Linked DNA regions of Homo sapiens: regions 1, 3 and 4 are each linked to region 2. Evidence: promoter capture Hi-C in 16 types of primary human blood cells and fetal thymus (Javierre and others, 2016). All regions are on one chromosome and are shown on one strand. Each heading gives the region's core, a stretch centred on a gene start or on the middle of the fragment in contact. The rest is flanking DNA. Distances are from core to core; before and after follow the strand shown. Region 1 holds the start of CPSF1 (cleavage and polyadenylation specific factor 1). Region 2 holds the start of PUF60 (poly(U) binding splicing factor 60). Region 3 overlaps TMEM276-ZFTRAF1 (TMEM276-ZFTRAF1 readthrough). Region 4 has its middle 6.6 kb from the start of ADCK5.

Evidence for each region. Contacts are between HindIII fragments. The CHiCAGO score rates a contact against its expected background, and 5 or more counts as called.
Region 1: a contact is called between the fragment with the promoter of CPSF1 here and the fragment with the promoter of PUF60 in region 2, in 8 of 17 cell types (M0 macrophages, erythroblasts, M1 macrophages and 5 more). The highest score is 14.0, in M0 macrophages.
Region 3: a fragment that was not itself captured here is called in contact with the fragment with the promoter of PUF60 in region 2 in 1 of 17 cell types (monocytes); the score reaches 6.2 in monocytes.
Region 4: a contact is called between a fragment that was not itself captured here and the fragment with the promoter of PUF60 in region 2, in 1 of 17 cell types (monocytes). The highest score is 6.0, in monocytes.

The regions. Positions count from the first base shown.
Region 1 is chr8:144,407,795-144,410,673 of GRCh38, forward strand. It overlaps CPSF1 (cleavage and polyadenylation specific factor 1), which reads right to left and starts at 1,541. Exons shown (of 38, transcript NM_013291.3): 1 at 1,495-1,541; 2 at 1,221-1,378. The coding sequence starts at 1,364. RefSeq lists an enhancer at 1,028-1,077 and a silencer at 1,348-2,007. The HindIII fragment of the contact is 8,279 bases long and covers 1-1,928 here.
Region 2 is chr8:143,828,054-143,830,872 of GRCh38, forward strand. PUF60 (poly(U) binding splicing factor 60) reads right to left here and starts at 1,262. Exons shown (of 12, transcript NM_078480.3): 1 at 1,227-1,262. The coding sequence starts at 1,250. It overlaps LOC107986985 (a long non-coding RNA gene), which reads left to right and starts at 1,227. Exons shown (of 3, transcript XR_001746138.2): 1 at 1,227-1,351; 2 at 1,793-1,985; 3 at 2,656-2,819. It also overlaps a transcript of NRBP2 not described here. RefSeq lists a silencer at 980-1,549 and enhancers at 1,334-2,033, 1,354-2,553. The HindIII fragment of the contact is 7,973 bases long and covers 1-2,819 here.
Region 3 is chr8:144,448,866-144,451,658 of GRCh38, forward strand. It overlaps TMEM276-ZFTRAF1 (TMEM276-ZFTRAF1 readthrough), which reads right to left. Exons shown (of 5, transcript NM_001408018.1): 5 at 717-1,905. The coding sequence ends at 1,514. It overlaps ZFTRAF1 (zinc finger TRAF-type containing 1), which reads right to left. Exons shown (of 4, transcript NM_001330618.2): 4 at 717-1,905. The coding sequence ends at 1,514. Among named protein-coding and RNA genes, the nearest start is that of TONSL, 5.8 kb to the left of the region's middle. The HindIII fragment of the contact is 1,444 bases long and covers 643-2,086 here.
Region 4 is chr8:144,366,045-144,368,872 of GRCh38, forward strand. No RefSeq gene overlaps it. Among named protein-coding and RNA genes, the nearest start is that of ADCK5, 6.6 kb to the right of the region's middle. The HindIII fragment of the contact is 9,345 bases long and covers 1-2,828 here.

The DNA.
Region 1 (2,879 bases), core at 291-2,790, 580 kb after region 2:
CTTCAGCCTCCCAAAGTGTGGGACTATAGGTGTGAGCCAGTGCACCCAGCCTGAGATTCGGTTACAGGACTCGCCGTGGCTTCAGTCTTGGTGGGTGTCTCATTGTGAGGGAGGCTGCCATGTTGTGAGCTGCCCCAGGGAGGGGCCCATGTGGTGAGGAACTGCGGCCTCCTGCCAATAGTGTGTTAGGAGCAGAAACTCCAGCCCTCGTCAAGCCTTCAGAGGACAGGAGCCCTGGCCAGCAAATACATATGTATGCCGGGGTAGGTGCCCAGGAGGGTTGGCCTCCTTTGGCCTGAGCTTCTGACCCATCTGCCTGCTGGGTCAGCCCCTATTCACAACCCTCTTGTGGCTCCTCCCTGCTTTGTGGAGAATAGTCCTGACCACGGCCTACCTCCCTCCATCCCCACCACCACATCCAGTCTATACCACGGCCACACTGTGCATGTCTCTCCACCCTCAACTGCTTTGGGCCTGTGCACAGGCTGTTTCTTCTGCCTGGAACACCCTCCTCTCACCATCCCTGGGCCTGGGTAAGAGGTACTCCTCCCTTCAAGAGCAATGGAGAAACTGCCTCTTGCAAGTTGCTTTCCTGGACCAGCTTTCAACCCTCCGGCAACCAAAACACCACTGTATTTCCCAAACCCTTGAGGCGTGTGCCCCACTGTACCAAGACTCCTGTCAACAGTCTGTCCCCATCCTAGACCTGGCCTTGTTCCTTGTGCTACCAATGTCCTTCCCCCGACAAACTCCCGCTCTGCCTCAGACAGGCTCTTCTGATCATGCGACTGGAAATACACAGTCTCCTTCCTTCACTCCTTTATTCCCGCAGCAGCACTTGCTGCAGGGGCAGGTGTGTTTATTTAGATGTTCCCCTTCCCCAAGTGTCTGCAGGTGTGGTTCACATGGTATCTCTGCTACCCAGCGCACAGTGGGCGTTCGCTCCTTCCGAACAACTTGCTGAAAAAACGGAAGAGCAAACAAGACGGCTAGGGCAGCGCGCCCTTCCCGGTGGGGTAGGAAGGGAGGCAGAACAGGGTAGCAGCTGTGAGAAAGGATCTGAGCACAAGAGATTCAGGGTCATGTCCTGGCTCCTCAGGCTGAGGAACGTTAAGCAAATCACTCAACTTGTCTGGGGCTTGGCTCTTCCATCTGCAACCGGGGGCGGTGAGAGCACCCACGTCGCGGACAGCCGGGAGGGCTCCCAGGGCCCGACCTACCTCGGCGTCGCGGTTGAGGCGGTACACGTAGAGCTGCGAGGTCCCGGCCACTACCAGGTTGCGCTCGCTGTTGTTGAAGAAGTTGCAGTACATGGAGAACTCCAGACCGGTGGGCGGATGCGCCTGTTTGTACACGGCGTACATGGCGCCAACCCGGGCTGCGCAAGGCCGGGAGAGGAAGGGTGAGCGGGGTCGCCCACGCAGGAGCCCGGCCCCGCACCGCGCCCCTCCCCGGCCTCGCGCTGCCGCCTCGGCCGCCCGCCCGGCCGCCCACCTGGCAGTTGGAGCCGACTCGAGAGGAACCGGGACAGCAGCGAACTCAGTCCGGCCGGGCCCAGAAGCTGGGCGGGAAGGTTCCGGGCTTCTGCGCCTGCGCAGCGCCGCCGCGTGAGCGTGGCTGCAGGGGCGACAGCGGGCCCTAGTGGCCCGGGATGCGGGCGGCTGGCGGCTCGGCTCCGGGCTGGGCGTCCGGAACCCAAACCCCTAGCGCGCGAAGTGCGGGGCCTCCGCTGCGGGCGGAGCAGCGCGGGTTGGAAGCCGCAGGGGCGCCGGCTGCAGCGGCTCGGGGTCGGCCGGGGGGTGCGTCCGCGCCAGACCCAGGACGGCTGCAGGGAGAAGCGACTCCGCTCGTAGCTCCCGGGTTCAGGGGGCGCGCCGGAATCCAGAAGAGGGGGCGCGGCGCCTCGCCAGTGTCTGGGGCTCCGAGAAAGCTTCCTAGAGAGGCCGCACGCCCCCTCTGCCCAGTGTCCCCGCGCAGAGCGACCCCCGCCGCCAACACTCCCGCGGAGGACGCAGGACCCCGCGAGCCCAGCGCTGTCCGCCCGCCTTGCTCACTGCTGCCTACCCAGGGCGGGCCCAGTGCCAGCTTCCGGGAGCTTGGATCCTGGATCAGGCACGGGCCTAGGACCTAGAAACGGAATCATGAGAAATAAAACAAGAAAGTATCGTTACGCCCAAGAAAATGGCGTGGAAATATGTGTTTTTGTTGCATCCAAATCTACTTGCTCATTGGGCAGTGGGGGAAGGGCCACTTGGATGCTCAGGCGTGTGACCCCTGAGCCACACTCAACCGCCTTTTAAAAGTCAATAGGAGGCGGTGGCTCACGCCTGTAATCCCACTTTGGAAGGCCGAGGTGGGCGGATCACCTGAGGTCAGGAGTTCGAGACCAGCCTGGCCAACATGGTGAAACCCAGTCTCTACTAAAAATACAAAAACTGTGGGGGAAAGAGAGAGAGATCAGATTGTTACTGTGTCTATGTAGAAAAGGAAGACATAAGAAACTCCATTTTGATCTGTACTAAGAAAAATTGTTTTTGCTTTGAGATGCTGTTAACCTGTAACTTTAGCCCCAACCCTGTGCTCACAGAAACATGTGCTGTAATGAATCAAAGTTTAATGGATTTAGGGCTATGCAGGATGTGCCTTGTTAATATGTTTGTAGGCAGTATGCTTGGTAAAAGTTATCGCCATTCTTCATTCTCGATTAACCAGGGACACAATGCACTGCGGGAAGCCGCAGGGACCTCTGCCCAAGAAAGCCTGGGAATTGTCCAAGGTTTCCCCCCACTGAGACAGCCTGAGATATGGCCTCATGGGAAAGGAAAGACCTTACCGTCCCCCAGCCCAACACCTATAAAGGGTCTGTGCTGAGGAGTCGT
Region 2 (2,819 bases), core at 12-2,511:
TCACTTACTCCTGTGGCTTCAAGAGAAAGGACATAGTAGAAAGAGTGGAGTTAGCCAGTCCTGTGAATCACACACTGGGCTGCCCTCGCAAGCTGGGTATCTTGTGTAAATGCCTCTCTCCCCCTAGTAACTGGTTTCTGCCTCAGTGGGACATGGGACCAGCCCGCCCGCTGGGGGCCTGGCAATGGCAGTCTAAGGACACTCCCTGGTCCTGCCAGTCCAGCCTTCAGCCATTTGCCCAAGCTGTCTTCTCAAACAGACCTTATCCCATCCCGCTGGGTGTGGGCTGGGGGAAGGGTGACAAGTAATACAGGGGTAAACTGCGGCTGAGAAAGGTCCAAAAGGGGATTAGGTCCTATAAGCTAAGTGGTGAGAAGGAAAGACCAGACTTCATCGTGCATGTGTTGTGTGCATGGGTGTTCTCCCTCTACGTTAATAACGCCTGCCCTGCCCGGGGAAGTGGGCACTGAGCAGAGCAGGGGGCGACTCACTCCTCTGGATGCCCACGCAGCTCCCTAGGGCGCCCAGCAAATGGCACCCTGGGTGGGAACTGGCTTCTGGTGCGCACTAGACCTCCAACTGCCTGTCTGGTTCCCCACTGCGTCCCCAGATCCTCCCGCAGAGCTGGGGACAATGCGATTTCTCAAAACACGTAGGATGAGAGCGCACGTCCTTCCTTTCCACGTGGAGACAAGAGAATGGAGATAACCAGATCCCTCTCCAGCACCGGAGAACGAATTCACAGCTGCAGGCGTAGTGAGCCAAGGCCGCCCCATGCTCTGAGCTGCAGGCCCCTTTCTACAGGTCCCGTCCCCTTCTGATCCCATCAACCCGAAGGCCCACGCGTCACCCCCAGAACCCCGCTTCCGTCGTGACCACGGCGCACACCCCCGTCGGCAAAGGGAGGACGACGACCCCCGCTTGCCGGACCTAGCGGACAGGAACGCAACCCCGCCAGGCTCGCCCGCAAGGGCCACACGCCGCGCCCAGGCCCCCGCCCCGCCCCGCCGGAAGCTGGGGTCCGCAGGCCGGAAGCTGAGGCCGCGAGCCGGCCGCCGGCGCGCGCCCGCCCCGCCCCCGCCTCACGCGACCCGGGGACACGAGGGAGTCCGCGCGGGACCTGGGAAGACCGCCGCGTTCTTGGGAGGCCCTCCGCGCCCAGGCTGGGTCGACGACCCGGCCCCGCAAGCCGAGGGCCGCCCGCGCTCATGGGGGGGCTCACTTACGAGAGCTATGGTCGCCGTCGCCATCTTGCGTCCGTCGCGGCCTCCGCGCGCGCCTCCCACTCTTGCTCCTTCCGCTGTCTCGCGCGATCTGGGTGCCGGTGCACGGAACTCTCGCGAGGAAGGAGGTAAGAACGCGCTTCCGGGGCGGGGAGGAACGGTAAACGCCCCCGGGAGGGGCGACGGAAGGGGCGTGCTCTTGGCCGGGCGAGGGGCGTGGCCCGCGCACCTCGGGCGTCTAGGGGCGTGCGCCGCGGGACTCGAGTCGGGCGTATCTCTCCGCGTGGCCGACGCGGGCGTGCGTAGTACCCTTCGCCGCCCGTCGCCCTTGCGGCCACTGCTACGCTTCTCTTCTCTGCCTTTTTTGGAGAAAACGCTGTCGCGTGCGTCGTCCAGAGGCTCTCCCCCAGGAGGCAGGCGAAAGAGCGGGGCCCTCCTGGGCTGGAGGAGTCTCGGGTGATGAAAGGCCCGCGTGTTTCAGGCTGACGTCGTGAGATGCGTCGTCCCCGCGTCGCGACATCCCTGGGACCGGGAGGCCCCGTTCAATTGGCAGCTTTTTCTCCTTCCAGGGAACCGATGACCCTAGGTTGGCTGACATCAGTCGCTAGACCCGCAGCCCGCAGGCCCCGTTAGTCCCTGAACTGGCTTTCATGGCCCAAGGTGTCTGTCAGTACTGCTGGGAAAGCTGCCTGTCCTGGACATTTGCCATCTGCTGCACCCAGTCCCGAGACCCCAACTCGGTCATCCGAAGAAGCCACATCTGTAAGCTCAGGCACCTTCAGCTGCCTAAGGCCACAAGGCATCCCGGGCAGGCCTCCTTTCAACCCTGGGAACATTTAGAATTTAATACAGACACTTCTACTTAAATAGGGCAGAATATTCCCCGCCTCCCTCCTGAAACCTTCCAAAATTATAGGAAAGGGGTTTTATAAAGACAAACCCTGCAAGGGCAAAGAGCTGGGATATTGCAGAGCTTAAGAAAGGTGGACAGCGAGAGCTACTCCAGCCCACTTGGCTATGGAGGCCAGTGTCTGAGGGTCGTGGGTGAAAGCACAGCTACAGAAAGGAAACCCCAGACCTCTGTCCCTACCCACCGGGGCTGGCAGGCACTGCAGTGTCTGAGACGTGAGCTCCAGGAGAGGAGCTCTGAGGCCCTGCTCAAGCAAGGCCCTGTCTGAAAGCCTGGGAGTAAGTGAGACTCTGGGTCCTACCCCTGCCTCCACCCCTGGGCTGGGTCTGACCACCCGCATGCCATCAGGCTTCTCAGAGAAGAGGGCTCCTCTCTGCAGCAGCTCCTAGCTCAAAAGAAAAGACTGGCAGGGCACCTAGGGGTAGAGTGTTGCCCAGTAGAATGGCCCAGCCAGATCCCTGGCCTCGAAGCTCACCAGGTCATAAGCCCCAGCCACTAAAAGCATCTCACTCTTCAATGCAGCTGGACAGCCCAGGATCACCAGACACCTGAGAAAGAAGAAAAGGGACTCAGAAGAAACAGAGACGATAAAGGAAGCCGAAGAAAAATGAAAACTAAAATGCCATTCTCAGTCAATAAAAAGGAACTGGGGGCTATAGAGAAAGAAACCTCGGGATGAGAAAGAG
Region 3 (2,793 bases), core at 115-2,614, 620 kb after region 2:
AGAAACAGCTCCAGAAAGTTTCAGCCCGTGAGGGGCAGTGCGGCGGCCCGGGAGGGAAGAGCTGACTGGGAGGGTCATGCTGGGCTGTGCCATGGTCAGCCGCCCGGATGATGGCGCTTACATTCTGCCCCCAGTTCCTCTCCATTTCTCAGCCCTCGACCCGTGACCAGCAAAGCACAGGACAATGTGGGCCAGGCCCCAGCAGCCAGTGGGGGCGGGTTGGGCTGCTGTGAGGCAAGTTAATGCACCTGACTGGAGCAGAGGAAACCAGTTCTTTGGTATTGAAGCAACAAAAAGCTATCACGGAAGAGCCACATCTCCTAAGCAAAGGTGGGGGCGTCAAGCTGTATCCTTCCCAGTAGCCCTGGGAGTCCCAGGGGAAGAAAGGACCAGGGATTACCCCTCCAGGCAGGGTTCCTTCCCATCCTGTTAGGCCAGCCCTGCTCAGCCACCACGGGGCACATCAGGGGGCGGCCAGGGTGAGGATGGGAAGGGCCCACCTCCTCCAGGTGAGAAGCTGGGCTGCCCAACCTCTGACCTCTGCAGCGAGCCCTGAATGCAGGGCCAGCAGCAGGACCCCGAGAGCAGCATGGGGGACACACCTCAGACTCTCACCCAGCCAGGCGCCCAAGCACTGACCCAAGCTTTCCACACAGCCTGGGGACGCTGGGCCCTCAAGGCTGAATCTACAGTAAATAGACTCTTTCTCACTAAAATTGTGTAACTTATCCAAGAGCCTGCAAGGAGTTTAATCTTTTTCCTGGGAAGAGACAATTTCACCCTGCTTTCGGAAAATGCCTGCTGAGCCCTGGTGGCTGAGTCCTGTCTCCCTGGGAGCGGCCGGTTGGCCAGGGCAGCCCCGACCCTACCTGGATCTTCCTGCCCAAGCCTCAGTCTCAAGACCCCATGACAGAGTGTAGGGGGAGGCAGTGTCTCTGAGTCTTTCCTCGGGGGACGTGTGCGGGCACACAGATGGGGGCGGGGCAGGCTCTGACCCCCAGGCCAAACCAAAGCCCCCACGCTGTCCATTCACAGCCATGCCTTCCCCTCGAACAAAACAGAAAGTACGAAACAAGGCTGCCTTTTAATTGCTATCAGATATTCGGATATCCCGTCTGATGTCAGCAAGGCCCCCGCGCCCCGCCGGAACCCGCAGGGATGGAGCAGCACCGCCGCCTGACTGCACAGAAGGGCTGGGGCAGGGTCGCTGTGCCTCTCGGCCTCCTTGCTGCCACCGTCTCTGAGCCTCGGGGCGCCTGGTGCACCGTCTCCTCTTCGGGTCAGCCCAGCCTCTGGCGGCCCTCGGAAGGAGGGGAGGCAGGGGTCGGGGGGGTGAGCCGGAGGCGGGGGCCCCGTCGCGCACGCATGCAGACTTGCCCTGTGTTGGCTTCGTTTGTTCTCCTCCTTTGCTAAAGTGATCAGATAGTCCTGTGAAGCAGCTGCCAGCCAGGTGGACAGGGCAGCGGTGCTGGGATGCCGCCCGTGGGCTCCTCGGACATCCTGAGGCCCCGCCCTACTTCTGTATCTGGAACAGGAAGAGCCGCAGGTTGATGTTCTTGGCAGCCAGCAGCTTGTTGCACTCCACGGAGTCAATGATGGGCAGTGGCACGTAGTCCGTCTCGTTGCTCTCGTTGGTGAAGACAAAGTGGTAGATGACGGGGCTGATCCTCACGTCGTCGTAGGGGCCCTTGAGCAGCAGGAAGGAGCACTCCAGCGGTGCCGTGACCTTGCTCTTGAGGAGGAGCTGGAAGGAGAGCGTACGCTTGCAGGACAGGTTGGGGTTACGCTCCGAGTCGTTGACTCGAGCCTTCAGGACCCACGTCTGGTTCAGCACTGTGAACCTGGGCGTCTCATAGTACAGGCGCGTGATGAAGTCGTCTGTGCGGTACGGCCGGAACTGGACCTCTGTGGAGACAGACAGGGCCGGAAAGAGCCGGCTGTTAGTGTGGGCAGGGCTGGGCAGCAACGCCTTCCCTGACCAGGCCGAGGGCAGGCTCAGCCGGGGAGGAAGGCAACTTACCCGGACACCGGGCTCTGCTTGTCACAAGCAAGCCAAACGCAACTATGGCAAATGGAGGTGCACACAAGCTTTGAGGGGAACAACCACAAACAGAATCAACATGGATTAGCTGGAGAGTCCAGAGGCTGCACGTGTCAGGCCACACCCCAGGCGTGCCCGACCCACGCTGGCCTCCCTCACCGCCCCGAGCCCCGGGTGTCCCCCAGGGCGGGGTAAGCAGACACACAGACAGGATGCGGTTCCGAGAACAAGTGCACTTTATTGGTTCTGATACAGAGGAGCTGCCAGAAAAGCCAGCAGGCGGCTGCGGCACCCAGCCCTGCCCGAGGGGAGCACCAGGTCTGCAGGCACCGGGCCTGATCCGGAGCTGCCAATCAGCAGGCAGCCCTGCCTGCACAGTCCTCTTGGGCAGCCCACAGCCTGTGGCCGGCAAGTCCCTCCGTGGAGGCGTGGGTTCCCAGGTGGCCAGTCTTTCCTGCGCGAATGGGGCTTCTCACCTGGCCACGGCCACAGCCACAGTGCCCCAGCCTGCCTAGACTCCACGAGGCCCCGGTATCTCCAGGACAGCTAAGGCTGCTACTCACCACGGGCTGTGGCTGCCGCAGAGACCCCAGGCCCTCGGCCTCTCTGGCCTGCTCGGGCCCACATCCCGCTGGGCACAGTCCAGGCAGCAGGGCGGGACTGGCTGCCCACGACCACCCTGCTTGCGCCACGCCTGGTGCTCTGAGCTGGCCGCCTGGTGTGGGCTGAGAGTAGAGGGATGGAGCTTCCTC
Region 4 (2,828 bases), core at 86-2,585, 540 kb after region 2:
GATCATGTGACTTGCTTCACCTTGTCAATCACTTAGAAGATTCACCCTCCTTACCCTGCCCCCCTTGTCTTGTATGCAATAAATATCAGCGCGCCCAGCCATTCGGGGCCACTACCGGTCTCTGCGTCTTGATGGTAGTGGTCCCCCGGGCCCAGCTGTTTTCTCTTTATCTCTTTGTCTTGTGTCTTTATTTACTACAATCTCTCGTCTCTGCACATGGGGACAACACCCGCTTAGCCCCATAGGGCTGGACCCTACAGTGTCTTAGTTCGTTTTGTGCTGCTATAATGCCACAGACTGGGTAATTGATAATAAACTGGGATTTATTGGTTCTGGAGATTTGGAGGTCCAAGAGGGAGGGGCCACATCTCATGAGGACCTTCCTGCTGCCACATAACATGCCAGCAGGCATTATGTGGCTGGACGGAAAGGGGCCAAACTCATCCTTTTATAAGGAATCAATTCCCGAAATAATGGCATTAATCCCTTCATGAGGGTGAAGCCCTCAAGACCTAATCACCTCTTAAAGGTCCCACCTCTGGCGGGGTGTGGTGGTTCACGACTGTAATCCCAGCACTTTGGGAGGTGGAGGCGGGCGGATCACTAGGTCAGGAGTTCAAGACCAGCCTGACCAACATGGAGAAACCCCGTCTCTCTAAATATACAAAATTTGCCAGGCGTGGTGGCACATGCCTGTAATCCCAGCTATTCGGGAGGCTGAGGCGGGAGAATTGTTTGAACCTGGGAGGCAGAGGTTGCGACAAGCCAAGATCGCACCATTGCACTCCAGCCTGGGATGACAGAGCGAGATTCCATCTCAGAAAAAAATAAAAAGGTCCCACCTCCAATACTGCCACACTGGGGATCAGGTTTGCAATCCATGAACTCTGGGGGACACTTTCAAACCACAGCACATAGATTCAGTTAAGAGACTCTTCTCCTTTTACAGAAGACAATTGGATGAATTGGTTAGGTCACCAAGGCCTTGTCCAGGTTGTCATATGGAGAGTTCTGCTCTTTCACTGGGGATGACCAGCCGCTGCTGCGGACCTTGGGTTGCTGTTATGAAGGAGTGCCTGCAAATCCTCCTGAGGGTGCAGACCCCAGGCCTTGCAGGTGACCAGGAAGGTGATTTCCTGGCAGGCCCAGGAACATAGAAATTGACCCAAATTATAGGTATTGCGTTTCTTGCCTCTGCAAAGAAGCAAACAATACAGGTCCACTCTGATATTTCTTTCTTTTCTTTGAGACTGTTTCACTTTTGTCACCCAGGCTGGAGTCCAATGGTGTGATCTCAGATCACTGCAACCTCCGCCTCCTGGGTTCAAGCGATTCTTCTGCCTCAGCCTCCCGAGTAGCTGAAATTACAGGCGTCTGCCACCACCCCCAGCTAATTTTTGTTTTGTTTTGTTTTTTCGAGACCGAGTCTCACTCTGTCACTCAGGCTGGCACAGTGGTGCAATCTTGGCTCACTGCAACCTCCACCTTCCGGGTTCAAGTGATTCTCCTGCCTCAGCCATGAGTAGCTGGGACTACAGGCACGTGCTACCATGCCCACCTAATTTTTTTTTTTTTTTTTTTTTGTATTTTTAGTAGAGACGGGGTTTCACCGTGTTAGCCAAGATGGTCTCGATCTCTGGACCTCGTGATCCGCCCGCCTCAGCCTCCCAAAGTGCTGGGATTACAGGCGTGAGCCACCACGCCCGGCAATTTTTGTATTTTTAGTAGAGACAGAGTTTCACCATGTTGATCAGGCTGGTTGCGAATTCCCGACCTCAAGTGATCCACCTGCCTCAGCCTCCCAAAGTGCTGGGATTACAGGTGTGAGCCACGGCACCCAGCCCCAATCTGATATTTCTTATGAAAACTTCCAGCAAAGCAAACGTAAGGTGGCCTATATGGGATATTTGCACTGTTTCTGCACCTATGTAAATAATTGGACCACACTTGCTGACACCAGCTTCATTTTATGGCCCAGTGTGATTTATTTTTTATTTAATTTAATTTTATTTTATTTTGAGACAAGGTCTCACTTTTTTGCCCAGGCTGGAGTGCAATGGCTCAATCTCGGCTCACTGCAACCTCCACCTCCTGAGCTCAAGCAATTCTCCTGCCTCAGCCTCCCGAGTAGCTGGGATTACAGGCATGGGCCACCACGCCTGGCTAATTTTGTATTTTTAGTAGAGACAGGGTTTTTCCATGTTGGTTAGGCTGGTCTGGAACTCCCAACTTCAGGTGATCTGCCTGCCTCAGCCTCCCAAAGTGCTGGAATTACAGGCATGAGCCACTGTGGTCAGTTTTTTTTGTTTTGTTTTGTTTTTTTTGAGATAGAGTTTTGCTCTGTCGCCCAGGCTGGAGTGCAGTGGCGAGATCTCGGTTCTCTGCAACCTCTGCCTCCCGGGTTCAAGTGATTCTCTTGCCTCAGCCTCCCAAGTAGCTGGAACTACAAGCATGCGCCACCATGCCCAGTTAATTTTGTAATTTTAGTAGAGACGGGGTTTCGCCATGTTGGCCAGGCTGGTCTTGAACTCCTGACCTCAGGACCTGCCTGGGCCTCCCAAAGTGTTGGCATTACAGGCCTGAGCCACCACACCCAGCTAAATTAATTAGTTAAATGAACCTTTGACACACTGTCCTCATTTCCTAGGGCTGCCAGAACAAATTACCACAAAGTTAGTGACTTAAAATTGATGAACAATTTTATTCTCAGTCACTTTGCAAGCCAGGGACCTCCAGCCGACGATGCCCCACCTGGGCCTCGCTGGGCCACAATACCTGCTGCAGAGACAGCTCGCCCACTCACCCCACCTGGGCCGAGTCTGGCTTGT